2 separate regions of the Homo sapiens genome follow, and region 1 is linked to region 2. The links are contacts of gene promoters, found by promoter capture Hi-C in blood cells and fetal thymus (Javierre and others, 2016). All regions are on one chromosome and are shown on one strand. The core of a region is centred on a gene start or on the middle of the fragment in contact, and the rest is flanking DNA. Distances in the headings are between cores, read along the strand shown.

What was found. Contacts are between HindIII fragments. The CHiCAGO score rates a contact against its expected background, and 5 or more counts as called.
Region 1: a contact is called between a fragment that was not itself captured here and the fragment with the promoter of NUDT9 in region 2, in 1 of 17 cell types (fetal thymus). The highest score is 5.3, in fetal thymus.

The regions. Positions count from the first base shown.
Region 1 is chr4:88,277,121-88,283,836 of GRCh38, forward strand. It overlaps PPM1K (protein phosphatase, Mg2+/Mn2+ dependent 1K), which reads right to left. Exons shown (of 7, transcript NM_152542.5): 2 at 1,024-1,522; 3 at 23-123. The coding sequence starts at 1,463. Among named protein-coding and RNA genes, the nearest start is that of PPM1K, 4.1 kb to the right of the region's middle. The HindIII fragment of the contact is 1,892 bases long and covers 305-2,196 here.
Region 2 is chr4:87,417,105-87,424,788 of GRCh38, forward strand. It overlaps NUDT9 (nudix hydrolase 9), which reads left to right and starts at 5,469. Exons shown (of 8, transcript NM_024047.5): 1 at 5,469-5,908. The coding sequence starts at 5,802. RefSeq lists enhancers at 5,238-5,287, 5,357-6,291, 6,835-7,338, 7,339-7,684. The HindIII fragment of the contact is 3,809 bases long and covers 3,286-7,094 here.

The sequences.
Region 1 (6,716 bases), core at 1-2,500, 860 kb after region 2:
GGAATGTGATAGTTTTACATACCATCAGCAGACAGGCGGGCATGACTCGAAAAGGCTTTATCTATTTCTAGAAAAGCCAAGGTCAACAGAGTTTCCAAGTTCTTCTCCTTAGGAAGCAAATCCCTTTGTGGGGAGGAAAAAAAGAGCCTTAAACAATCATTTTACAATAGGTTTTTCTCCTCACTGTTACTCTAGCTAGCAGTCATTCCACACAACGGGCCTCAGGATTTTCCTGTCAAATGCTGAAGACCTACTGGCTAAGGAATACCTATTGAGAATCCACAAAGTATCAGGCACTGTGATAAGCTTTTAAGGGCACAACAATGAAAGTCCAAGTCCTTGTCCTTGAAGAATTGATCCTCACTACCACAACCCTGAGAGGTCGAGAGTTCCTTCCCATTGTGAGTTCTTTCGTGGAATGCGGTATACACAGGAAGTCAAGAAATGGTCACTGGGAAGTCAAAAATAGTCACATGGTCGTAACTCCATCACATGTTCTCCCTCTTTCAATTTTAGCAGTAATGTGATCCTCAAAAATGCATTAATACTAGTTGAAGTAAATAAACGGAAGAGCTCCAAAATGCCTGCATTAAATGCATTTTTCCACACTAATGCCAATCATCCAAAGCTATTTTCAACAAGTCAGGTATTCAAAGCTATTCACACCACTTGAAAGAGTAATTACCATTTACTGAAGCACTTATCTGTCCTACACTGATGGGAGTAAATGCTTCTCATAGGTTATCTCATGTACATTATGCCACTTCACTTAAAATGATCACAAATTAAGTGCTATAGATTTTGGTTAATGCTTTCCCCAGGGGAGTTGTTAAAACATGCATTTCTGAAATTGTGATAACCATAAGTAATAAATGGCACACTTAAACTACTGCTCATTCGTGAAGCAGCAGCATGCAACCACTCAAGTAACTATGTTTACGCTGGAAGCCTCAGCCAAAGGGTGAAAGTTTAAGTAGGAAGTATAGGAACTGCAAAGTCAGGAGTGAAAGTCATTGTACATACATAATACATTTCTCCATGTGGGTATGACAGAAATCAGCTGCTGCAGGTCCACCGTGTCCATCATACACTGCAAAGTACAGGACCTCATCTGTCAGCTGAGCGAAGTCAAACCGATCTTCATTCTCTTTCCGTTTGCCAATCTGTGAGGCGCACCCCACATTTTCCAAGCTGATTTTGGGAATTGGCTTGCCATACTTAATGCTGGGTGGCAGCAGAATTGGCTCATCAATGCGGTTATCCCAGATCCCAAAATTGTCCCAGGTAGCTGGACTCCCACTACCATCTGGGTCAAACCGAGAACACCTAGGCTCTGAAGTGGAGCTGTGGCACGTGGGTGTCACCCGCCTGTCGTCCTGCAGCAGGCGGGAGCTTAGCAGCACTCTCCTTCTCACCTGGTTCCCACCACTTCTGACCAAAGTAATTAAGGCAGCTGTTGACATAACTCAGCTCCAAAGGACTCAGTGATGAGGGAAAGGTCAATGGAACAATAATGGAATGTCTTCAAGAAAAATGATGCAAGTCACAGGGGACAGAGGGAGAGAGGGGCAGAGGAGGAGAGGGAGAGAGACAGAGAGAGAGAGACCATCAGAAATTTTGAATATAACTGATATGTCATCAAATATTACCAAAAATGAAGCTCATAAAGGATTTGACAGAAAATACATATATTTATGTTATATATTGGGTAGGCATCCAGTAGCCTGCTTCTAAGAACAGTGGATCAAAAATGAATCGATTTTCCTACCGCATTCACAGCATTTAAATTCTATAAAAATTTAACAGTGTGCACATACACAGAACATGTATCTCTTAAACTTGAACCTGCAATCACTTGTTAAAATGCATGTTCTGACCCAGTGGCTATGGGGTGGAGTCACTCTGCATTTCTAACCAACACCCTGGTGATACAGAAGCTGCTGGTCCCCAAGTTACACTTCTAGTAGCAAGAACACAGAATACAGGTATAAATAAATATACTTCCCTTCATTAACTCTATTGCTTTAAAGAAAAGGTAGGGATAAATATTAACAATAGCAACAAAGTCTCTTCAGGAAAAAATAACAGGCTAATAGAATACTTAAAATAGTTCTGTTTCCAAAGAATGGCCAAGTTTTAACAAAAACATAATCTAGGATAAATCTAAGTTTTATTTTAACATTTCTTAACCTACTAAGCTTTACATACTATATTACTATGGTAAATATAAATTGGTGTGCAAACACCCCAGAGGCACAAAGATAAGCCAGTTTTGATGCTCCCCATCCTAGCAGACTCTCTCACTAGGAGGGTATGTGGGTATGATCTCAGGAACCTGGCAGCACTGCATTTGTGACAAGCAGCCCTGATTTCTGAACGAGTGATCTATATATTTACATTCACAGCTGCAGCTCTCCTTTCCCCAACCCTAACAACCCAACGACACTTGAGACTACACTTCTTTGAAACGATTACTTTACACCCCCATTTCTGGACTCCACCCTGAAACTCAATCCTAAAACCTCTCTTGGCATTACAGGGTGTTACCCAGGGGAACTCCTACCCCACTGCAGGTAGAGCTGTTTCTGGGAATTTTCCACACAAATAAAAAATTTGTCTCCATAGGATTTTGTTCTATTACTTTATTCTTTTAAAATCAACTTGAAAAGATGGCAGAATACTAAGGTTTGATGATGTTGGTGGATGGTCTACAGATAGTATATTATTCTCAATCTTATGTTTAAATTATTTCACAATAAAAAATGAACTTGAAAAAATGTATCTTTCCAAAAGGTATAAACATACACAAATGAAACCCAGCTTGAGTGCAGTTATGAGAAAATGCACTACAGATTTCAAACAATTACTTTCCAATGAATTTTTGGAAATCAGTCTAGCTATGTATAGGGAAGGCCATTACTTCTTTCGGTGGGTAAAACAGTCAAAAGAAAGAATGAGGTTCCAAAGAACATCCTTAGGTGTTTATTTGTTTTAATTTCTTGTAGATATGGGTTCTCACTTTGTTGCCCAGTCTGCTCTTGAACTCCTGGCTTCAAGTGATCCTCCCACCTCAGCCTCCCAAAGTATTGGAATTACAGGCATGCGCCACAGAGACTGGCCTCAATCTTTAGATATTTAAGCAATTAAAAAAAATATGAGCTCTGCTGTCACAGAATTTAGAATAAAGATGGCCACCAAAACAAGTAATGTATCATCAAAGACTTAGGAAGTCATCCCTTCTTGGCCTTTTGGCCAAGATCCTGCATAGAAGGCTGAAATTCATTTCTTCGTAAGACAACATTGTTGGGGGGTTGGAGAGTGGCAGAGACACAGCATCTCTGGTTATCAAAGAGAATTAACATGGCCGGACCCGGTGGCTCACACTTGTAATCCCAGCACTTTGAGAGGCCGAGGTAGGCAAATCACTTGAGGCCAAGAGTTGGAGACCAGTGGGCAACTTTGCAAAACCCTGTCTCCACTAAAAATACAAAAATTAGTCAGGCGTGGTTCCGCATGCCTGTAGTTCCAGCTACTAAGGGGGCTGAGGTGGGAGGACTGCTTGAGCCCAGGAGTTTGAGACTACCCTGGGCAACATGGTGAAACCCTGTCTCTACAAAAAGTACAAAAATGAGGTGGACAGATTGCTTGAGCCTGGGAGGCAGAGGCTGCAGTGAGCTAAGATCACACCACTGCACTCCAGCCTGAGCAATGGAGCAAGACATTGTCTATTTAAAAAAAGAGAGAGAGAGCGAGAGAGAGAAATAACACATTCCATTGCAAGAGATGTTTGTTCTTTTGCTTCTAATTGAGAGTTAGATTTTATTCAGCAACAATTATGGATTCAAGCCAGCAATGGTGTGTTAAAAAAAATTTAAAAACCCAATTATGTTAATTATAGGTGATGAATTGAGACTTCAAACTACAATACAATCTACCAGGTAATGGAAGTACTAATTATTTGGAGATAATTCCCAAAGCAGCTTTATATCATATAGAAAAAAAAAAGAACTTTAAAGAAATACAATTATTAGAAAATATTTGTATTTGAAGAGTTAACTTGAGATTAGCAAAATACTATTCTTTTGGCTTCGGTCTGAAAGTATATATGCCATATTCAGCCTTGAGCTACTTTGCAGTCATGCACCTACTTTAAATCAGAGTTCTGGAATTACAAATAAATAAATATTGAAGTTTTTCTGCAACTGTTCTAGTATATTCTTGCCGTTTTATCTCCTCTTTATCCTCCCCCCAATTTTTTTTTAAATAATAAAATAGAACTGCATTCTCACAGAGAACAAATATCCACTGGAAACATTTTTAAGAAATGAGATAAAATGCAAATTGAGCAGTTTCTGTAAGGCTAAAAACCTGCGTATTTTAAAATCAATCATCAACCTGGCATCCTTCCTCGTGTATTGTTTCTATAATCATCTCAGAAAGCAGGCAGTCATAGGAAACCACCTACTTTAAGGCATATTATTGGCAGAGATGAAATGTGACCCAGATATATAGCTAGTTTATAAAAAACAAACAAACAGGTCGGCATCGCTTAGGTAAACGAGATGTTACGAACTGGCTCCATGTCCTTTTCCATCTGCAATGTAACTAAATCATATCAATCCCCTCCATATTCCCTAAGAAACAATTCAAAGGCAGCTGGAGTTCCCAAAGTAAATAACAACTTTGAATTAAACCTGCACATTAAGAAAAGTTTCCTCCTCCAGAACTCCACAATTGGGATCTGCCATCATAGACCCCACAGCTCTGCCGATGCCCATGGGAATGACTATGCTTTGACCAGCAAGGCAAGGGGAGTAGAACTTGTGATGTGAAAAACAAAAACCTTAAGGAAAAAAAAAAAGCAATCAGTGTTCTCTAAACAAAAAGAGTGGAGAACAAACTAGCAAACACCTAAGGATTGTCTTTTGTCAGTTCAGCAATTAAAAATTGGGATGAGTTCATTATTCCACAAACTAAGAGAGAGAAGGAATCTTTTTAAGTAAGCAGGGGAGATTTAGGTCAATTTTTTGATCGGAAAACATGGCTAGTTTATTTTTATAAACCATTTTAACATTATATTCAATCTTTGGAAGTCAAGTCATCCAAAAGGAAAGCACTTTCTCTGGCAGGAAGGTGCACTGGATTTGAGTTAAACTGTTCTTGTATGTTAAAAGCAGGTCAAAAGGGCAGTTTAAGCACATGCCAAAATTATTCAGGAGTTCTAAAGTTCTGAAACCTGCTTAGATTTTATCCCTCTAGAAAAAATATTTTAAGAAAGCATTCCTATCTGCCCATTATGAAGTGGCATTTAGGTATCTACAACTTCCACAATGAGAACACAGCCCTTTTAAATATTCTTAAACCAAATATTTACCTATCGACCTTTTTAGAAAATCAATTAAGGCATCCCAGTAAATTCAAATAGTATGGAAATTTCCAGAATGTATTTCAGCTAATTGGGACCCCAATACCTTCTTTCTCAATACCCTGCTAGGAGGAAGGGAAAGAAAATTTACTGCTTTACCTGAGGGGAAAAAAGAAAACAACAATAAAAACTCCAAAGGACTCCCCTTAGGTTTAATGTGAATATGTCTATGTTCAGATGTGTGACTGGAGAAAAGTGTGAAATGTGAGCAGTGAAAAGTACTCAGTATTCTATTCCCATAGATATCTTTTAAGACACGTTAGTAAATATGCATACAAGCCACAGACTATATCCCAAACCTGTAACTTTATAATGCCTTTAAGAACTTTCCTTCACAGTCTATTATGTCACCAGCCACTCTCCTCTCTTCTTTCCTCGTCTCTAAGGATTGCAGTCAAGGAATTTGCCTGGGTGATCAGTAGTAATGACTAAGGTTGCAAGAAAAAATTATTAGCGAGAACTCACTACTCAAATATTGTAACTAAGGTATTTTATCAGACACACACACACGCACGTGCTGCTCTTCTTCCTGCCACAGCTGCCTAACCAGAACACCACAAACCATGGCTGTTTTTCTTTTTCTTTCTGAGACAGGGTCTTGCTCTGTCGCCCAGGCTGGAGTGCAGTGGTGCGATCTCGGCTCACTGCAGCCTCGACCACTCAGGATCAAGAGATCCTCCCACCTCAGCCTCCGGGGCTGGGACCACAGGCACATGCCACCACGCCCGGGTAATTTTTGTATGTTTTGTAGAGCCGAGGTTTCGATGTGTTGCCCAGGCTGGTCTCGAACTCCTGGGCTCAAGCCCGCTTTGGCCTTCCAAAGTGCTGTGATCACAGGCGTGAGCCATTGCTACCGGTCTCATTGCTCTTTTTCATCGTCATTGTAATCTGTCACTTTAGTCGCTCATTCTGAAACCGAAGGACAGCCTCATTCCTCCGCCCTGACGGAAAGAACCGATGAGGCCTTGCTGCACGTTAGCAGTGGGAGGCTCAGAAAAGCCCGTGGAGCTTTTGAGACTGCAAATTCCCTGGCTATTTCCACCTGGAGCCTCTTTGTCACATCCGGTGAATTCCCTCATCTACAGAAAGCGGCTGCTGAAAAAGACATCACCAGCTACAACGCCTTGAGTACTACAGCGCTCCCTGCGCAAAGTAAAACCCAAGTCTTCGGATCAAAACCAGCCGGGGCTGTGCATCCTTCACGATGCCGGACCTCCTGAAAAGCTCACCTGGGTACAGCTCAGGATCCTGGCCTCGGCTCGCTGGCCCTGACAGGCGGGTGGTCAGGGTG
Region 2 (7,684 bases), core at 4,219-6,718:
TCTGAGTTCACTGAAAACTCACACCTCTATTGAACTTTGGGATTTACAGAGCTCACCTGAACCAACCAATAAGCTCAGCTGTGCCAACCAATCAGAATTAAGCTAGCTTGAATCCCTCATTTGTGTAAACAGACCTAGTTAGTAATCTGGGTGGCAATTTTGGTTATAAAATCCAAACCGTCTCTCTGTTCTCTGGAGCACACTTCTGTTTTATACCAAAGGCTGTGTTTCCCTGGTTTGCAAACTGTTCACTGGAATAAAGTCTCTTTCCTCCAAATTCCTTTTCAGAGAATGTTTGTTTACAATGACTAAATAAATGCAGAAAAAAAAAAGAGAATGTGTTAGGCCATTCTTGCATTGCTATAAAGAACTACTTGAGGCCGGGCACGGTAGCTCAAACATGTAATCCCAGCACTTTGGGAGGACAAGGAGGGCAGATCACGAGGTCAAGAGATCAAGATCATCCTGGCCAACATGGTGAAACTCCATCTCTACTAAAAATACAAAAAATTAGCTGGGCATGGTGGCATGGGCCAAGTAGTCCCACCTACTCGGGAGGCTGAGGCAGGAGATTCGCTTGAACCCAGGAAGCAGAAGTTACAGTGAGCTGAGATCGCGCCACTGCACTCCAGCCTGGTGACAGAGTGAGACTCCATCTCAAAAAAAAAAAAAAAAAAAAAAAAAAAAGAATAAAAGAAAGAAATACTTGAGACTGGGTAATTTATAAAAAAAAGTGTTGTGGGAAGTCAGGGACCCTGAACGGAGGGACCGGCTGGAGCTGTGGCAGAGGAATAAATTGTGAGGATTTCATGGATATTTATCAGTTCCCAAATAATACTTTTATAATTTCTTATGCCTGTCTTACTTTAATCTCCTAATCCTGTTATCTTCGTAAGCTGAGGATGTATGTCAACTCAGGACAACTGTGATAATTGTGTTAACTGTACAAATTGATTGTAAAACGTGTGTTTGAACAATATGAAATCAGTGCACCTTGAAAAAGAACAGAATAACAGCGATTTTTTAGGGAACAAGGGAAGACAACCATAAGGTCTGACTGCCTGCGTGGTTGGGCAAAAAGAGCCATATTTTTCTTCTTGCAGACAGCCTATATACAGACGTGCAAGTAGGAGAGATATCACTAAATTCTTTATCACTAATATTCCTAGCAAGGAATATTAATATTAAGACCCTGGGAAAGGAATGCATTCCTGGCGGGAGGTCTATAAATGGCCGTTCTGGGAATGTCTGTCCTATGCGGTTGAGATAAGGACTGAGATACGCCTTGGTCTCTGGCAGTATCCTCAGGCTTACTAGGATTGGGAAACTCCTTCCTGGTGAATTTTTGGTCAGACTGGTTCTCTGCTCTCGAACCCTGTTTTCTGTTAAGATATTTATCAAGGCAATATGTGCACTGCTGAACATAGACCATTAACAGGAGTTCTGATTTTGCCCTTGTCCTGTTTCCTCAGAAGCATGTGATCTTTGTTCTGCCTTTTGCCCTTTGAAGCATGTGATCTTTGTGACATACTCCCTGTTCATACACCCCCTCCCTTTTTGAAATCCTTAATAAAAACTTGCTGGTTTTGCGGCTCAGGTGGGCATCATGGTCCTACCGACATGTGATGTCACCCCCGGCAGCCCAGCTGTAAAATTCCTCTCTTTGTACTCTTTCTCTTTATTTCTCAGCTGTCTGACACTTATGGAAAATAGAAACAATCTACGTTGAAATATTGGGGGTGAGTTCCCCCAATAGAAAAGAGGTTTAATTGGCTCACGGTTCTGCAGGCTGTACAGGAAGCATGGTGCTGGGCATCTGCTTGGCTCCTGGTGAGGCCTGAGAAAGCCTACAATCATGGTGGAAGGCAAAGGGGAGCTGACATTTTGGCGAGAGTGGGAGCAAGAAAGAGGTGGACAAGGTGTCATACATCTTTAAACAACCAGATCTTGCATGAACTCACTATCACAAGGATAGCACTATCACAAGGGATCCACCCTCATGACCCAAACACCTCCCACCAGACCTCACCTCCAACACTGGGGAATACATTTCAACATGAGATTGGAGGGGAGAAATATCCAAACTATATCAGGGAAATAGTTGGGATTCTGAATTACTCTTACTTTTAACATACTCATCAATTCTAATAATCACATATGTCACTTTCCTATTTAAAAATTCTCATTTCTCAGTGTTCTTGGTCTGTCTCACCAACTATTGCAAGATGCCCTTGAAGTTGGTATATGCTTCATAAATTTTTAAAAAGTCCTTACTTCTCCTTAAATTCTGATGACATCTGTTTAACTAATTTAGGATGTGGGTAATTTGATGAGGAGATGTTTTGTTTCTACCCAAGAGCAGGTTGCAGAACATGCACTCACTACACCTGAGCAGATGTGCAGTATGCATCCCTGAAGGGAGGAACCCAGGAGATCTGGCTGTCCCAGCTAATTGCAGTTTTGTTTCAGTGCCATGGAATTGGTTTTGTTTGTACAGTTGTTTGCACAGGTTCATCAAACTAAGTTCACGCTAGCCTCCCCTTAGGGAATATGGAGTTATAAGACTAGGGTCTGAGGAGCTTCCTGTGAGAACTACTTTCTGTTGCTCCCTTTCTTTGATTGTTGACTTTGTAACTCACTGCTTTTCTCCTGTCTTCTCTAGTGACTAATTTGTCAACAGACTTTGGACACGCTGAACTTGATGAACAGAGCCGGTCTAATACATTTCCAGTTTAAGCAGTGATTAACAACACTGAGAGCAAAGTTTATCTGACCAGAGGAAGCCGAGTACTGATATTTATCTTTAAAATGCACATTTCAATAATAGTACTTCTCAACCTGAGAAAGCAGTCAAAATAAACAAAGCTGGACACTAGTTAAAGCAGTAAGGACAGACTTTATTCAGTGATGCTAGTCCAATAGGGAAAAGAGTGTAATACAAACTAATCCCACACTTCCCTGAAACAAAAGGCTGTGGTATGCAAAAAGGAAAGGCACAAAAGGATCTTAAGTTTTGGGGGGTGGCAGGGGGGCACGGTGGTTTGTTGATTGATGTGATTAGGCCATTTGGGTTTGTTAACTGGCTCTTATCCAGAGGAGAAACAAACTTCTATCTTTATGATAGGAGGCAGTGGTGCTAGCTAAAGCAAGGTACCGGTCTTGTACAGGGACTAGGAGCTAGGGTGAGTTATCTTTCTGAATATTTGCATTTCAAAGAGATGGCTCCCAAGTCTTTGAGGAAACTGTGTTGGGTGGTAGACTTACATCACCAAGGGTAGAGAAACAAGCTTTCTAAAGTGACTGCTCTAAGAAGGGGTTCAGGGACCTATCTGCCTATCATCAAGTTTTGGCTGGAACAAACAGTAAATTCTCCAGGCATTGAGTTTTGATTTCAGGGAAGCATTTTAACGGGATCTGGGGTCAGCCTAGGGACAAGGCCTTAAGCTACTGGAAGCTATGCTAGAGTATAATCAAATCTCTCAGTGCCGAGAAAAGAACTTTTATATGAGGAAGGTAAATCCTTTTAAATTACCAGGCCCAGAGAGACATTAAAATGAGACAGCAATTACATCCTACTCCCCACTTTGTTATGCATTCATCTCTTTAAACTGCTTACTATAGCCACAAGTAGCTAAAAATTAACCTAATAATGGTACACTGGACACTGTAACTCGCACCCTATAGCTTAACGTATAGCCAACCACTAACCAATACTATTTCTACAAACCAGTAATTCTTTACAACTTTGTATCAGTCAACTCCCTGTCCCCTTTTTGCCTTTAAAAACCTGATTGTAACAAAGGTGGACAGGAGTTCACATTTAAGGTTACTTGGGTCTGGGTCTTCTGGGCAGCTGTCCTCACTTTGGCTAAAGTAAATGCTTTAAGTTCTATCTCGTGCCTCAGCGTCTAGGTTGACAGTGTAGTTTGAACAGTCAATACCTGTCGAGAGTTCTGCAGTTTTCAGAACAATGGTTGTTAAAATTCGATTAATCTGGCTTTTAAGATGGTCAAAGTTTTGTAACGTCGGTGTATTGGAACCACACCACAGAAACAGCGGATCATGTAAGTAAAAGTCAAATAGTTGCCACATCAATAAGCTAATATAAATGAAGTAAGCCTGATTACAAGCTGCTTTGGACAGTCTGGGTTTCCAACTTTGTTTGTCGGTTTGTTTAATTTTTGCCTCTCAAGTTTATTATCCAGTATTATGTGTGTTGCCCTCTGTTCCTCCTCCAGCATGTGTGCCTATTTTCACAGCTTTTCTCCTCCACGAGTTTCCAAGGGCCACAACTGGTCCTAGCAAAGCCTTGTGAATGAAATCCAGCAATTGGAGCAGACAACTTGGTTAAGAAAACAAAAACAAAAAACCAAGAAACCCTTCAAGATACGAGGGCTGAGTCTCTGGACTATCTCCTCTTGCTGTAACCGCCCAAGGGGTTCACCTTTCCCGCTTCCTAGACAGAGCTGATTCATCAAGACAGGGGAATTGCAATAGAGAAAGAGTAATTCATGCAGAGCCAGCTGTGTGAGACCGGAGTTCTATTATTACTCAAATCAGTCTCCCTGAGCATTCAGGGAGCAGAGGTTTTTTCTTTTTTTTTTTGATACGTAGTTTCACTCTTGTCGCCCAGGGTGGAGTGCAGTGGTGCGACGTTGGCTCACTGCAACCTCCACCTCCCGGGTTCAAGCGATTCTCCTGCTTCATCCTCCTGAGCAGCTGGGACTACAGGCGCGTTTACCACCATGCCCAGCTAATTTTTGTATTTTTAGTAGAGACGAGGTTTCACCACGTTGGCCAGGCTGGTCTTGAACTCCTGACTGCAAGTGATCCCGCCTCGGCCTCCCAAATCAGTCATAATTTTGCAAAGGCGGTTTCATTCCCATAACGAAGTATTATTCAAAAATATGGCTAAGACCTGCGTCCTTCCGCAACAACTTACTCCCTAAAAAAACCAGAGCAGGGCCAGGCGCGTTGGCTGAGGCCTGTAACCTCAGCACTGTGGGAGGCCCAAACAGTTGGATTATTTGAGCTTGAGAGTTGGAGACCAGCCTGGGCAACATGGCAAAAATCTGTCGCTACAAAACATACAAAAATTAGCCAGGTATGGCGGTGTGTGCCTGTAGTCCCAGCTACGTCGGGGGCTGAGACAAGAGACTCGCTTAAGCCCAGGAGGTTGAGGCGGCAATGAGCTGAAATCGCGCCCCTGCACTGCAGCCTGGGCGACAGAGCCAGACTCTTGTCTCAAAAAACAAAAACCAAAAACCCAGGGCAGCAAGTCTCTCTCAAACCCCTTGGCTTCTTTCCCACTTATTCCCGTTCCAGTTCCTCGTCTGTTTCACCTTTCCTTTCCTCTGACACTTTCTTGGTAGTTCCCTGCGTCCCCAAGTAAGCCTGCGCAGACTGGGAAGTCTGGGAAGTCGGAGAAGGAAGGCGCTACCAAGCCGGCAACGCACGACCTTTGCTTTGCGGCGCGGCCGTAAAGCGCCATTACGCAGAGAGAAAGTTACGAGGTTCGTGGCCGCGGTTTCCCCAGGCAGCTGGCGCTGGAGGCTTCGGCGTCACGTGCTGGTCTGGATTTTTCTCGATGCACTGGGGAAAGCGGTGGACTCTTATCGTGGGAGGGCTCTTGATCTGTGATTTATAGATAGGCACAGCTACTCCCGTTCGGGAACCCAACGGCAGACAGGTCCTAGTGCCCATCAGATACCCGCGGCCGGGACTCGGAGCTGTGGGGTGTGGGGAGGCGGAGGCACCAACTAAGAGCGACCTAGCATCGCAAAGCCGCCCTCGGGGCGCTCATGGCGGGACGCCTCCTGGGAAAGGCTTTAGCCGCGGTGTCTCTCTCTCTGGCCTTGGCCTCTGTGACTATCAGGTCCTCGCGCTGCCGCGGCATCCAGGCGTTCAGGTATTCCACCCTCCTACTACCGGCTCCTTTGCCCTAGACCTTGAGTTGGGGGTGGGAAGCAGCTTTTTTTTCTGGCGTATTCTGTAGGCTTTGCTTTGCCTCTCGGGTTTTTATAGTCATATACAAGTTTTCAAAAAGGCTCTAAAATATTTTATCTGCCTTTTGAGGAAAACGAGTGGCAGGGACCCTTCTTGACTTCTGATTTTGAAATTTGCCATTCTCTGTAAATCATTGTTAGTATCACGAGAGAGTTTAAATAGCAATTGTTTGGGGTGGTGGTGTCCCGTGCCATTTTTTTATGGTTAATACTTAAAACATTATTATTAGTATTAATACATGTACATAGTTAAAACAACTTGAAAATGTAAAATGAAAAGTAAAATCACTATTCCCCCTGTCCCCTTTCCAGGGTGGACAATATATTATATTTACTATCTACCTCCTTTTTTTTAATAATTTGTCTATTGTGGTTAAATTTAGGGATTTATGGTGTCTTACACTGCCTCCTTCTGTTCTTCCCTTCTCCAGTTTTTATTCTTTGAGTTAGTAAACACAGGGTCCTAGGTGCAGCAGCCTTTTCTTATTTTATAGATATTAAAAGTCTTGAATCTACAAAGATGATAATTAGAAAAATCTATTTCCTAAATAATTTACTTACTGTTGGTCAATTGTTCTGTGTCTTTTTGGTCCTGTTTCCTTCTGTTGCTTTTTCTCGAACATGTGATGGGCACTGGTTATCTGTCTATATTTTGATTAATATGAGTAATAGGTCTTGTTTTCAGTACATGGGTCGCTAATTGACTTTTGGCTCTGTACCAGGTTGCCTAGATAGGAAGGTTTCAGTTGAGGGCATGTGAGCAGGTACCAGATGGGTAGACTGGGAACCTGCCTTTTGCTTCAGGCTTTGCAGTAGTGGTGGAGCAACTTCTCTGCTGAGTATAGCTGTTTATTTCCTCCGTGTGAACTGTAAAATTATTAAGCCTAAGTTTCTGCTGTGTACTCTTAACACCAGTATTCACAGTAGGGGTCCTACCCCTTCATTTCTAAAAAACTTTTGATTTTATCTTGGAGACAAACATAACTATTTTGGACTTTTTGCTTGGAGATTGGGGAGGGAGGAGGACTGAGTGATTTCCATGGTTATTGTCGCGCTGCCAGTTTATGATCCTTGGGCCCACTGACTTCAAGCTTGAAACCTCTAGCTCGGCTCAGCTTGTAGGAATAGCATTTCTCCCTAATGCGTTTTTTTTTTTTTTTTTTTTTTTGAGAAGGAGTTTCGCTCTGTCGCCCAGGCTGGAGCGCAGTGGCGCGATCTCGGCTCACTGCAACTTCCGCCTCCTGGGTTCAAGCGATTCTTCTGCCTCAGCCTCTTGAGTAGCTGAGATTACTGGCGCGCGCACGCCCGGCTAATTTTTTTTGTATTTTTAGTAGAGACAGGGTTTCACCATCTTGGTTAGGCTGATCTGGTCTTGAACTCTTGACCTCGTGATCCGCCCGTCTCGGCCTCCCAAAGTGCTGGGATTACAGGCGTGAGCCACCGCGCCCGGCCTTGGTGCATATTCTTATTTTACTTTGTCCTACTCTGGTTTGTAGGTCAATATTCCAACAACTTTTCATTTTCCTGAAGTTGGTTACCATCTGTCATTCACTGGTGGCATTTATTCCTTCTCCTGGTACGGATTTTATTTCCCTTTATCTATCTTTATCTTCTTTTAGTGGGATTTGAGGAAGGAAGGAATACACGTGTGTGCTCTCTGGAAATCTCTAATGCTCTTT